3 separate regions of the Homo sapiens genome follow, and all the other regions are linked to region 2. The links are contacts of gene promoters, found by promoter capture Hi-C in blood cells and fetal thymus (Javierre and others, 2016). All regions are on one chromosome and are shown on one strand. Each heading gives the region's core, a stretch centred on a gene start or on the middle of the fragment in contact. The rest is flanking DNA. Distances are from core to core; before and after follow the strand shown. Region 1 has its middle 26 kb from the start of SNORA88. Region 2 holds the start of IMMP1L (inner mitochondrial membrane peptidase subunit 1). Region 3 has its middle 14 kb from the start of RCN1.

Evidence for each region. The method cuts DNA at HindIII sites, captures the fragments that hold promoters and counts their contacts. A CHiCAGO score of 5 or more calls a contact.
Region 1: a contact is called between a fragment that was not itself captured here and the fragment with the promoter of IMMP1L in region 2, in 2 of 17 cell types (fetal thymus and naive CD8 T cells). The highest score is 6.3, in fetal thymus.
Region 3: a fragment that was not itself captured here is called in contact with the fragment with the promoter of IMMP1L in region 2 in 1 of 17 cell types (megakaryocytes); the score reaches 5.1 in megakaryocytes.

Annotation. Positions count from the first base shown.
Region 1 is chr11:32,167,725-32,171,922 of GRCh38, reverse strand. It overlaps the pseudogene THEM7P. Among named protein-coding and RNA genes, the nearest start is that of SNORA88, 26 kb to the right of the region's middle. The HindIII fragment of the contact is 4,148 bases long and covers 197-4,198 here.
Region 2 is chr11:31,506,696-31,511,151 of GRCh38, reverse strand. IMMP1L (inner mitochondrial membrane peptidase subunit 1) reads left to right here and starts at 1,530. Exons shown (of 6, transcript NM_001304274.2): 1 at 1,530-1,633. It overlaps ELP4 (elongator acetyltransferase complex subunit 4), which reads right to left and starts at 1,385. Exons shown (of 10, transcript NM_019040.5): 1 at 1,145-1,385. The coding sequence starts at 1,367. RefSeq lists enhancers at 1,081-1,370, 503-1,392. The HindIII fragment of the contact is 1,748 bases long and covers 297-2,044 here.
Region 3 is chr11:32,075,466-32,079,424 of GRCh38, reverse strand. No RefSeq gene overlaps it. Among named protein-coding and RNA genes, the nearest start is that of RCN1, 14 kb to the left of the region's middle. The HindIII fragment of the contact is 9,478 bases long and covers 1-3,959 here.

The DNA of each region.
Region 1 (4,198 bases), core at 1,021-3,520, 660 kb before region 2:
CGCCTCCTGGGTTCACGCCATTCTCCTGCCTCAGCCTCTCAAGTAGCTGGGACTACAGGAGCCCGCCACCGCTCCCGGATCAGCCACTCTTTAAGGCTCGGAGGATTGGGACTTAACAATCCTGTGATCTTCCTGCCCTCCTACTCACTATTTCTCTAGGTCTCTGGAGGTCTTAAATATTGTCTCGGTGGAAGCTTCTGGTAAAACAACTTGCAATCTAATATAATATAATTTCTTATATTTCTCCCTGATTCCCCTGGGGAAAATTAATTGCCCCTTCCTCTCTGTGCCACAGCACTTCACACTTCCTTTCGCTATGTGTGGTCACGTGTGCTCTTGCTACTTAGATGTCTCTCTTGGCCAGAGCATCAGTGAGCTCGTGTATTTTCTCCATCTCTGAATCCTCCGCACTGGGCATTGTTGCTTTTAGGCCATCTTTTAGCATCCCATTCATTCTCAACCACTCCCTCACCACCAACCCCTCACCTCAGTCCCAACCATCTAGGGGATTTATAGAGGAACACATGGACGAGTCTTCAGGCTGAGCTGTGTTGAAATAGGCAGGCTTCTACAAAATGCATTCAATCTCATTTTCCTTTCATTGCATCAGATATTTAAAGAGCACCTACTGTGTTCTAGGACTTGGGTACATAATGGTGAGCAGAACCGACCCTGACCTTATGGATGTCCTGATTGTTAATTACAGTAATTGCTACAGATGATAAACTTGGGAAGAACATTCCATCTTTCAAATGAATGTGGTATTTTAAAGCCCTATGGAGCGGAAAGATACCAGGGAATACTGTAGTATTGAGAATGATTCTTTTTCAAAGTGCATTCCTTGCTTTTTTAGCCTCGGAGTCCCTGGTACACATGGTGCAGTCTTGTCCATAGAAAGAGCTTAAGAAAAAATTTATTTAAAAACCCTTTCATAGAAATTTAACAGCACAAATTTCCTTAAATCATGTTATTGGATCTTATTAGAAGATTTGCCAACCTCACATTTGACATGGCTTTGTAAGGTACTAACAGAATACTTGTACTTTGTTCCAAAAATCTTTCTGTAATTTTTAACTCTTAAGAGGTATCTGTGTCTTAACATCCCTGGATTATATTCAGGCTTTCAATGGAGCAGTCTGAGGATATCCCACCCAAGTTGGGAGGTTTGTTTTCTTAAAAGCGTTGTGCTAAGGAGATTTTTCTCTAGCCAAAGGAGTCTAGTAGTTATGACAGTTCTCTGGAGGGATTGAAATTAATTCCATGTGACATAGTTGAAGTTACTAGATATTTCAGCAATTCCCCCGTTGAATACCCACACATCAGGCAAGATAAAGTAACAAGTTTGGACATATTATGTTGATTGTGGTGGACATTTGTTGGGGCTTCTTCAATATCTACTCTTAGCTTCTCACACTAAGGGACCTTGAGTTTTTTTCTTTGGGAATTCTTCCCTCTCCATTTTCAGCCATACAGTTGGGTGGGATTAACCCCTCTTCAACTCCTGGGGTGGGCCTCAATTGGTCTAACCAGTTAGGAAAGCCAGCAACCACTTGCACTGATTGGTTCGGAGGTGGACATGTGACTCAGTTCTGGCCGATGGCAAAGAGTGAATACTAGGATTTGTGGAGAGGTAGCAGAAGGGGCACTTTCTCCTCTGCTGGGTGTGAGACCTGCCATGTTTGAAGACACTCTGAGATCTCAAGGTGATTTTCTGGAGCTGCAGGAGAGCACTGTGTGAAGCTGAGAGATTGTGTTGATGCAGAGGAACACAGAGTGGGAAGAGCATGAAATCAGATCGTTGGTGACTTCTAGTTATGTGGACTGCTAAAGCACTCACACCCTCTGCCTATTGTTTGAGTGAATTTGAATTGGTTTTTCTGTCACTTGCAACTGAAGAGTTCCTAACTGATAACTACTAATATCAAAGTGTCTAATACATTAAAATCAGTCACTCAGGCATCAGTAATGGAACAGAATTTAACCAAAGACAACAACTGTGAAAGCCTTTGGGTAGGGTAGCTCAGCTGTGGGAACATCAACAGACCCTTTTTACCCTTTAAAACAAAGCAGCTATAGCAGGAATCCAAGGATGGGGATGTGTTCAGGGTCGGGTAGTCTGAGATGCTGGCGATGCCTTGCAAAGCTCATGAATGTTCCACTCTCTTGAGTCTGTTCCATTGCTTGGCATAAAGCAGTTTATCTGTGTGTGTTAAAGGGTAGCCTAAGGAAATCTGCCTGGAAAAGTCCTGGGCCATCATCCCCTGGGTAAGGGAGGGGTCTGAATATCACTTTACATGGAGAGGTAATTAGAGATAATGGGAGCATCTTCGAGCTCCACTAACTGGAAGCCTCTAGACCTGTACTGTCCAATACAGTAGCCAGAAGCCACCAGTGGTGATGTGCTGTAAGTGTAAAATCTACCAGGGATATGTAAGACTTTGTACAAAACAAAAGAGTAAAATTTTCATTTACACATTGAAGTGAAAATATGTGGATATATTGGGTTAAATAAAATATATTATTCACATTAATTTCACCTGATTTTTTTTACTTTTATTAATGTGGCTACTAATGTAGAAAATATAACATTGCGTACATGACTCACGCTCTATTGGATAGTGCTCCTCTAGAAAATTGAGATCACATATTATTTGCTTTGCATGCTAATGGCCCAGAGACAGTTTTCCATGTTGTTTTTTGAGTGTATGAATCATGACTGACAGCTGCCGTTGAGAGCACCAGTCAGCAAGTACCCACAGCCTGTGCCTCTGCTGTGTGTGAGGGGCCTTTCTGTAGATGTTGTATCCTGATGTGGTGAGTCTAAGGAAGGCCACACCCTTGAGAATAAAAGACAATGTTTCCCCTGTACAGAGTGACACTCCTAGAGTTGAAGTCCAGGAAATAGGTGCCCTCAGACAAGAAAGAGGGCCTTGGAAGGGAGGCCTTGGTAGGTTGGAGAGGGGAGTCCCACCCATCTGTCCCTGGACTTCAACCCTTTGGATCTGGACAAAGAGGGTTCTAGAGATGGCTGAAGACACTTCTGGAGTGGGTATAGGGAATGTGGTTTCTGCTACAGAGGCAGGCTGGAAGCAGATAGGGAAAAGATCTTAGGCATGAGACACCACTGAGCCTCACAGTCTGGATTTGCCTCCGTGCGTGTTACTCTGTGTTAATGTCCTTAAGCAAAGTCTGATCTACCCGGTACGACCTGGCTTTGGTTGGGTGAGGACTTCTAGTCCAGGCTGGGTTGAGCCAAGGTGGTCACAGCAGCAGAGCTTAGTGAGACCAGCTGCCCTCAGTGCATGCTTGCTGCATGCACAGCCTCCAAAGATCAGGCTCTGATGCTATCAGGGTTGTTTTTCAATCAAATATTTCTGAGATATATCTGGCAGGACCACCCCAAACTGGTGGTGGAACCTAAAAGTGATCAGATGGTAAGGAAAGACATCCTCCAGCCTGGCTTTGCTCAGCCTGCCTTGCTGAATGACCTCCAGAACTTCCCTATACCCAGACTTCCACTGGCCCAAATCCATGAGTCCCTTCTAGGGTGTCTCCTGACCCCATCTCATCGGACAGAGGGGTGTCTTCTATACCATGTGTCTACTGTAATGATTGCATCTATTATTTGCTAATGCATTTGTTAATGCCCCTGTTTCCTATACAAGATTGTGTACTTCTGAAGGGGAGGGTTCATTATTCTTGGCCCTGACATAATGTCTGACAAAGAGCAGGCATTCAAGTAATATTTTTAAAAGGCAAGTAGATGGTTAAGGACATGAACTTGTATGGGTAAACTTATATAAACGCACAGCTATGCCTGGGTTTGAATTCTGGCCTTACTCCTTACTAGCTAGGGGACCTCTGTTACCCTTTCTCAGCCTCATTATACATGATCATGATGATGCCCACAGAGCTTTATTTCATTCATTCATTCATTCATTCAACAAATATTTATTGAGCACCTTCTATGTGCCAGGCTCTATGCTAGGCACTCGGATCAAAGGAAGTAGATAAAGTGCTTAGCACAGTGTGTGGCAGAGAGCAAACACATGTATACATCTACATCTACTTAGCTGCATTGATGGCCATATTGTCTTTATTGTGCTTGGCCCTCTGTTCAATTCTTATTGAAAAAATACTGCCTTACTCCCTCATTGGGATAGACTGAGGAGACCTTGTATGTAAACATATTTTCTTT
Region 2 (4,456 bases), core at 281-2,780:
AAAATACTTAAACTTATCTAGAAATAACCGGAAAATGAAATGAGAGAATCAAGAAGCCATACTCTTTCTCATAGGTTGCTGGTCTTCTTACTTTCTCTGCACTAAACCTATGAAAAGCCTACTTTGAGGGGAAAATAACCGAAAGAAATGTCAAACGAAGTACAAGAACAAGCAATGAGTTATATTTTATGAAAGTGTACAAGATTTAACAGACACATATCACACACTATGAAAAAAGTTATGTAAACACAGACGGGGTTTTAATGAAACAGCATTCAGAAATTAATCTAGAAGCTTTATTAACACAGCAAATCTGTCCTACCAACTTAATCTGGTCATTCCTTTGAATATAACAGTTATGAAACAAGCATATTCTTCAGCAGGCTTCTCATAAAAAATTCCAGAGATTTTAAAGGAAAGCCTAAGAACTAGACTTTTCTCGTTAAAATGTGAGTTAAATTTAAAGATGTCGTATGGAATGTAGCAGCAATCAATACTGGGAAGCAAAATGTATATAGAAAAAATAAAAAATATATACACAGATTTAACGCAGACACTATCTAAATATCAACGACAGGCTCAAAATACTTTATAAGGATTATGTGTCAACATAAGCCTTTAACATTCGCTCTCTTAAAGCCAAAATGTTTTAAGATTTAGAACCAGAGAACAGGCAGTCTGACGGTCAAAGAGGGGAAATCATTTTTTTCCAGCATCTTCTAATGAAGTCTGTCTCTCACAATTATAAAAACTTTTGCAGGCTGGTCTAAACCGTGAGCTGCCTGGAGAAAGCAGAAGGGAGGTATCCTGAATGAAAGCCAAACCATCTCCATAAATTAATGTCTTCCCTTGACTAGAAAGCATTTCAGGGTAAAAAGCATGTACGAATTCCTCCGTAATATGAAAAGGGGTTGGAGGGCAGGGAATGAAATAGAGAGCGAGGGCACTAAAACATGTTTAGTTAACAGCGCTCAGAAGTCTCCACACAACCCGTATTCCCCTCCATCTCAATCAGACCAGGCTATTCTCTCCTCCTCCGAAGGTTTAGGGGTCAGAAAGAGATGTGGGGTCAAAGTGGCTTCCCCGACAGGTCCCCTCCCTAAGTTTCCCCTCGGCTGAGCCCAGATCTCCGCTCTGAACCGACCTAAGAGCTGGTCTAGGGCTGGGAGCCCGGTTGATACCAGCAGCTGTCCATTCCGCACCGACGGTCGCGTGCCCGCAATGGACACCAGTCGAGGGCCGCTGTCGTTGGTCACGCTGGCTCTAGGACCCCTCCTCTGGAAACTGGTGACGTTGCTCTTGCTGGCTGTCGCCACTGCAGACCCAGTACTCGCGGCAACACTACCGCAGGTTGCCACTGCCGCCATCTTAGAGCCTCCAGTGTTAACCCAATAGGAACTCTGGGAACGCAAACACCCGTCCTATCAGAACCAGTGCCAAACTCCCGCCTCCTCGCCCCAACCGCGGCTCTCGTAACCAATAGGACTGAGACGTCAGTCCCGAGCCAACCAATCGGAAGGCGTATTGCTGAAAAGTGCGCCCTACGAAAGGACGGTCGACTTCGGCGGGGCCCAGGTGAGAAAGGCCCACCTGTGTCCTGGTTGAGGGTCTCCAGGGTTCTTTGGGGCCCGAGGTAGGTAATATCACGTAACGTTCTTCTCCTTTTGAGTGCCTTCATTCACATTGAGTTAAAGAAAAGGTTGGTGAAACAATAAACCCTTAGGGCTTATCAAGCAATTGCTAGCACCTTTCTCCGCTGTGTGTGAGGATAGACTTTTTTCCTGCTCATTTATCTTCTGATTTCTGATAGAAAATTCACTCCGCCTTCCCCACGATGTCTTTTTCTTAATTTTGTGTTATATGGAAAGGATGGGATCTCTTACCTTAATGAGTTGGTTGCTGAGCGTCTGGGCTTAGTTCGTTAGTGCCTAGTGGTAGGTGGTTTGGAATTAAACCTTAGAGCGAAAACTCTTGAACTTTGAGGCTATCTGGTTTTCCTGTGTCTGACAAACTATAGCTCTCTGACAAGTTCCGATAAGAAGCTTTTGTTAATTTTAATTAGTGTTTCTGGAAGTCTTGGATGTCTTTCCTAAGCGGTGTAAATGACAAGTGTTACTCTGACAACCTTGTTCACACATTTAATTGTCGTTTGCTGTTAAAGCAGCTGCAAATAACAGAAAATACTTAGGGTTTCTTTCCCCCAAAAAACTGCTAGGAAGAATTAGAAGTATACCTACTTTATTTTATGAACCCTGAATCGAGAGTTTATTACTAAAATACCAATTTTATGTGTGGAAAAAACATGTATTTTGAGTTGTATTTTTGTATTTAATTTTTTTTTCAAAACTGAGCAGGGACAGTGGGTAACTGATGTTTAAAGGCAATCATGATTGACAAATGTCTAAATTGAAAAGGACTCCCAAATCATTACCGCACTACTGAGTTATTGACTTTGACAGTGATCTGTGATACCTTTTAATTAGAGCCAAACCTCATTGAAATTCTTGCCATCGAATTGTTTTAAATCTCACTGACCTGTTGAAATTTTTGGGCTGATTCTGTTTGATAAATTGAAATTAGTATTGCTAAATAGTGACTGGAGTTTTTCATTTGGGGAGGATTTTTGTTTGTTTGCTTGTTTTTTAGAATCATGTTTAGGAAAAAACCCTGTTTCACAATATATCAACTGGAAAGCTTTGATCAAGGTTGCTTTCATATTGAATCTTTAAGTTACTCAATAAATAGCTGTTGAGTGATTACTGTCTGTTTGGACTTAATCTTGTCATTTTAGACCTATGGTAATAAAAATGGTCTCACCTGGAGGAGATAAAATTAACACATAGAAAACAACATAGTACTTAAAATGAACACATTAAATAGCATGTGCTAATTTTATCCTGTAGTAAATAAGCACTAGGAAGACCAAAAGAAAAAGTGACAAAGCAGTCCAATATCAGATAGAAACGTCTTGAATTTTTTTTTTCTTCAACTTTTGTTTTAGGTTCTGGGCTTCATGTGCAGGTTTGTTACATAGGTAAACGTGTGCTGTGGTGGTTTGCTGCACAGATCAACCCACCACCTCGGTATTAAGCCCAGCATCCATTAGCTATTCTTCCTGATGCTCTCTGTCCCCCCACCCCTACAAATATTTTTGATGCTGTGAACTTTTTGAAATGCTACATATAATTATTATTTTTTGACAGATGGCATTGTTTTGTGTACCTCATGATGCTATGAAGTGTATGTACATTCCGGAATCGTTAAATCTAGCTAATTAGCAATGCATTACCTCACATAGTTATCATTTTTGTGGTAAGAGTACATAACATCTACACTGTTTACATTTTTTTAAAGAATACAATATATGATTATTAACTATAGTCAGCTTGCTATAAATTCATGTTATATAATAGATTTCTTGAAATTTATTCCTCCTATCTAACTGATATTATGTATCTTTGACCAAATTCTCCCCATCCCCCCTGCCAACCATCCTGGCCTCTGGTAAACACCATTGTACTCTCTGTGCGATGAACTATTAGATTCCACCTATGAGTAAGATCATGTGATATTTGTCTTTCTGTGTCTGACTTATTTCACTTAACATAATGGTATAATTCGTTTTTATAGGCTTCTGTATTACATATTCCCTTGTTTCCTACTGTATTTACTTAACCCTTTAGATTTCCCAAGATGATGATAGTGGTGCTTTGTTTGCCTCATTACTAGAACTGAAGAATTATTTTCCAACTTTGACTTGGACTATAATTCTGGAAAGATGATCTATATACACACCAGAGTATTCATGAAATTAGGATATATATCTGGTATAACACTATCGTAGGATAAATATGCTTTTGTTTTTTTTTTCTGAGACGGAGTCTAGGTGTGTTCCCCGGGCTGGAGTGCAGTGGCGCGATCTCGGCTCACTGCAAGCTGTGCCTTCCTGGGTTCACACCATTCTCCTGCCTCAGCCTCCCGAGTAGCTGGGACTACAGGCGCCCGTCACCACGCCCTGCTGATTTTTTGTATTTTTAGTAGAGATGGGGTTTCACCGTGTTAGCCAGGATGGTCTCAGTCTCCTGACCTCGTGATCCGCCCACCTCGGCCTCCCAAAGTGCTGGAATTACAGGTGTGAGCCAGCGCGTCAGCCAAATATGGGTTTTTTGTTTGTTTGTTTTTTGTTTTCTTTTTAGACGGAGTCTCGCTCTGTTGCCAGGCTGGAGTGCAGTGGCATGATCTCGGCTTACTGCAACCTCCGCCTCCTGGGTTCAAATGATCCTCCTGCCTCAGCCTCCTGAGTAGTTGGGACTACAGGCATGCACCACCATGCCCAGCTAATTTATGTATTTTGAGTAGAGACAGGCTTTCACCATGTTGGCCAGGATGGTCTCAATCTCTTGACCTTGTGATCCACCCGCCTCGGCTTCCCAAAGTGTTGAGATTACAGGTGTGA
Region 3 (3,959 bases), core at 1,443-3,942, 570 kb before region 2:
CCCAGTTTATTAGTCCATTTTCACCTGCTGATAAAGACATACCTGGGTCTGGGTAATTTATAAAGAAAAAGAGGTTTAATGGACTCACAGTTTCACGTGGCTGAGGAGGCCTCACAATCATGGTGGAAGAGGAAGGGACATCTTACATGGTGGCAGGCAAGAGAAGAGCTTGTGCAGGGGAACTCACTTTTATAAAACCATCGGATCTCATGAGATTTATTCACTATCATGAGAACAGCATGGGAAAGACCCACCCTCATGATTCAATTACCTCACACCAGGTCCTTGCCACGACGTGTGGGAATTGTGAGAGCTATAATTCAAGATAAGATTTGGGTGGGGACACAGCCAAACCATATCACGCAGTAATTGGTTTAGTTATAAGGGTGGGCCCCAATTCTGGCAAAAGAGCAATTAAGGAAAGTTTCACAGGGGACTTCCAAAAACAGCTTCCTCACTCTCAAGAACAAGCCACAAGAAAAGATGGCCCCATGTGTTCCCCTGAGTGTTGTGAAATCTGGATGTGAAGCCTGGGCCTGCTGCAGCTATCTTCCCCTCTCAGGAAGAAGCCAGCACTGAGGATGGCAGAATAGCGATGTGGAAAGAATCTTTCTCCCTGATAAAGGTTGGGTTGCTGAATCAATCTGCCCTAAAGGCCACCCTACCTCAGGACTTCTGTTCTATGAGATATTAGAATTCCTTATTGTTCAAGCAAGATTGAGTTTGAGTTCCTGTTACTTGCGTCAAAATGCTGTAAGAGGATAGACTGTGTTCCTGATATGGTTTGGCTGTGTCCTCACCCAAATCTCATCTTGAATTGTAGCTCCCATAATTCCCACATGTTGTGGGAGGGACCGGGTGGGAGATAATTGAATCACGGGAACCGTTTCTCCCATACTGTTCTTGTGGTAGTGAGTGAGTCTCACGAGATCTGATAGTTTTATAAGGGGAAACCCCTTTTGCTTGGCTCTCATTCTCTCTCTTGCCTGCTGCCATGTGAGATGTGCCTTTCGCCTTCCACCATGATTGTGAGGCCTCCCCAGCCATGTGGAACTGTAAGCCCATTAAACCTCTTTTTCCTTATAAGTTACCCAGTCTTGGGTATGTCTTTATCAGCAGTATGAAAACGGACTAATACAGTTTCCTATGTATATTGTAAGCTATGCTAAGGGTTTTTTTTTTTTTTTTTTTTTTGTTGTTGTTGTTGTTGTTGTTGTTGTTTTGCTTTTACCCCAAAACCAATGAAAAGTCATGAGAGAGTTTTAAACAGAGGACATAATTCACATTTGCACTCATGCCGCTGTGTGGAGAGCAGGTTCTAGGGGGCAAGAGTGGATGAAGGGAGACCTGTTAGCAGACCTTTCCTTCAGGAAGAGAATATGGAGTATCTGCCTTGGGCCCCACACTTGAGGTGAGAGGCTGCAAAATGAATATCTTTTTAATGAACCATCATTAAAATTCAATTTTGAGTGTCAGTTTTTAACAGTATCTTCTGGAGCCAATAAAAGATGCCAGTGCCAGTACAGAGTGGCTCCCTTTTAAGGGTCAGTACTTTGGATAAACTCTGCACTGACTTGAGTTGCTATGGGTCCCATTTTCTTCTAGGGATAGCCCCAGAGGGTGGCCTGGATAGAGGGTGATGGCAGTGGAGGTGGGGAAGAGTGGCAGAAACATTTTAGAAGTAATATTTTGGTGATAGAATGAATAGATTCAATCAGAGAGAGAGAGAGAGAGAGAGATGACCCTCAAGTTTCTGTGTAACTGGAGGCAGTGAAGGTGCCATTAGGTGAAATGAAGAAATGTGGAAGGGGCTTATTTTGGGGCAGGGGTTGATTCTGAGTTTAGTTGAACATGTTAATATACCTTTGTAATATTCAAGAAGAGGTTTCTAGAAGGTGGGATATGATACTCAGTTTCTAGAAGGTGGGATATGATACTCAGAGGACAGATTTGGGTTGGAGTGAATAATACTTTAGTCATGCCCATTTTAGGAATTAATTGAAATCATGGACCTCCATGTGAAAGGGCTTTGGGAGAGAAGAGGCTTGGGAGAGAAGAGGCTTGGAAGAGAAGAAACCTAGGACCAGGCCTGGAGGACTGGGCAGAGGTAGATGGGGCCTGCAAAGACCACTGAGAGGTTTTTGTCAGAGAGGTAGAAAGGGAACAGAAAAGTGGCTTGTTATGGGAGCAAGCGGTCAGAGTATTTCAAAAATCAGAAAATTTACTGAGGTGCTGATAATTGTTGAAGAGTCAAAGGAGAAGTGTGATAGTCTCCAAAGATGGCCCCAGGGAAGTATGCTTCCTGAAATTCATATCTTCGTGTAGTGCCCCCAACACTGAATGAATGGGGGTGGGGCCCGTTCAATCACTAGACTGAAGCAGAGGGGATGCTACGCGACTATCAAGGTCACAGAAATCCTTGCAACATCCATCTTGGTCTCTTGAAATACTTTCTCAGTGAGACGCCAGCCCCCATGTAAGAGGTCTCTTTACCCATAAACCCCCATGCTGTGAGGAAGCCCAAACTACCACGTGAAGGTACTCTATGGAAGGGGAAGGAGAGAGAGGGAGAGATCCCAGTCCCCAGTTGTTCCTGAGATCCAACCTGGATAGCAGCCATGTGAAGAAAGAAGCCATCTAGGATGTGAAGCCTTCAGATGACGCCAGCTCCTTAAGAGGCCCCAAGTGAGAACTGCTCAGCTGATTCCAGTCAATCCATGGAACTATGAGAGATACAGATAAATTCCCGCCTTAAGCTATTGAATTCTATAACTGGAATAAGATGGGAATTGATCAAATAAATATCTGTTTGATTTGAAAGAATGGAGGTCATTACTGTTTCTGGGTGTGACAGGAGCAGAAGCCAGATCTGACTGGGTTGAAGAGAGGGTGAAAGCTGAAGAAATTAAGAAAGCAAACGTGGTGGCTTTCTGGAGACTCCTTCAGCTATGGATGGGGAGGAGGAAAGTTGGTAGCTGGAAGAGGATGTGAGGATGAGGGACAGATTTTCTGAAAGTGGTCTCCATCATGTAAGTATGTTTAAAAGTACTGCCTATGAAGTACTCTTGATTTAAAAAAAAAAAAAAAGACAAATATGGGGGAATATGGGAGATAGAGACACAAGTTATCAGCACTTTAACAATGTGATCAGCTAAGTCAAGAGTGTGGGACACTCTATGTAACAAATGGCCCAAGAAATCAATGGCATTTAAAAAATATAAAGGCAGGGAGACTATTAGAGGACAAAAACAACTTAAGAGACAAAACAATGAGATACAGTATGAGAACCTTGTCTGGATCTTGATTTGAACAACCCAACTATAAAAAGACATCCTGGAGACAATTGGGAAAATAAAATATGGACTGAGAATTAGGTGATATTAAGGAATCACAGTTATTTAGCTGTGATAACGGCCTGGAGGTTATGTTTTATAAAATTGGCCCTTATCAATTAGAGACGCATAATGTGATGGCCCAATACACGGAATTTTCTTTAAAATATGGCCAGGTGCAGTGGCTTAAGCCTGTAATCCCAGCACTTTGGGAGGTGGAGGCAGGTGCATCACCTGAGGTCAGGAGTTCAAGACCAGCCTGGCCAATGTGGGAAATCCCATCTCTACTAAAAATACAAAAATTAGCTGGGTATGGTGGTGCATGCCTGTAATCCCAGCTTCTTGGGAGGCTGAGGCAGGAGAATCTTAGAGCCTGGGAGACAGAGTTTGCAGTGAGCCAAGATTGTGCCACTGCACTCCCGCCTGTGCAACACAGCAAAAACTCTGTCTCCAGAATAAAATAAAATAAATAAAATATATACATTGATAAAATGGTGACAATTGTTGAGGCTTGCTGATGGGTAAGTAGGAGTTCATTATACTAGTTTCTCTGTTTTTGAATGTATTTGAAAATTTTTATAATTTATAAGAAAAAGTTTAAAATTTTTTATAAGTTTTTAAAACTAT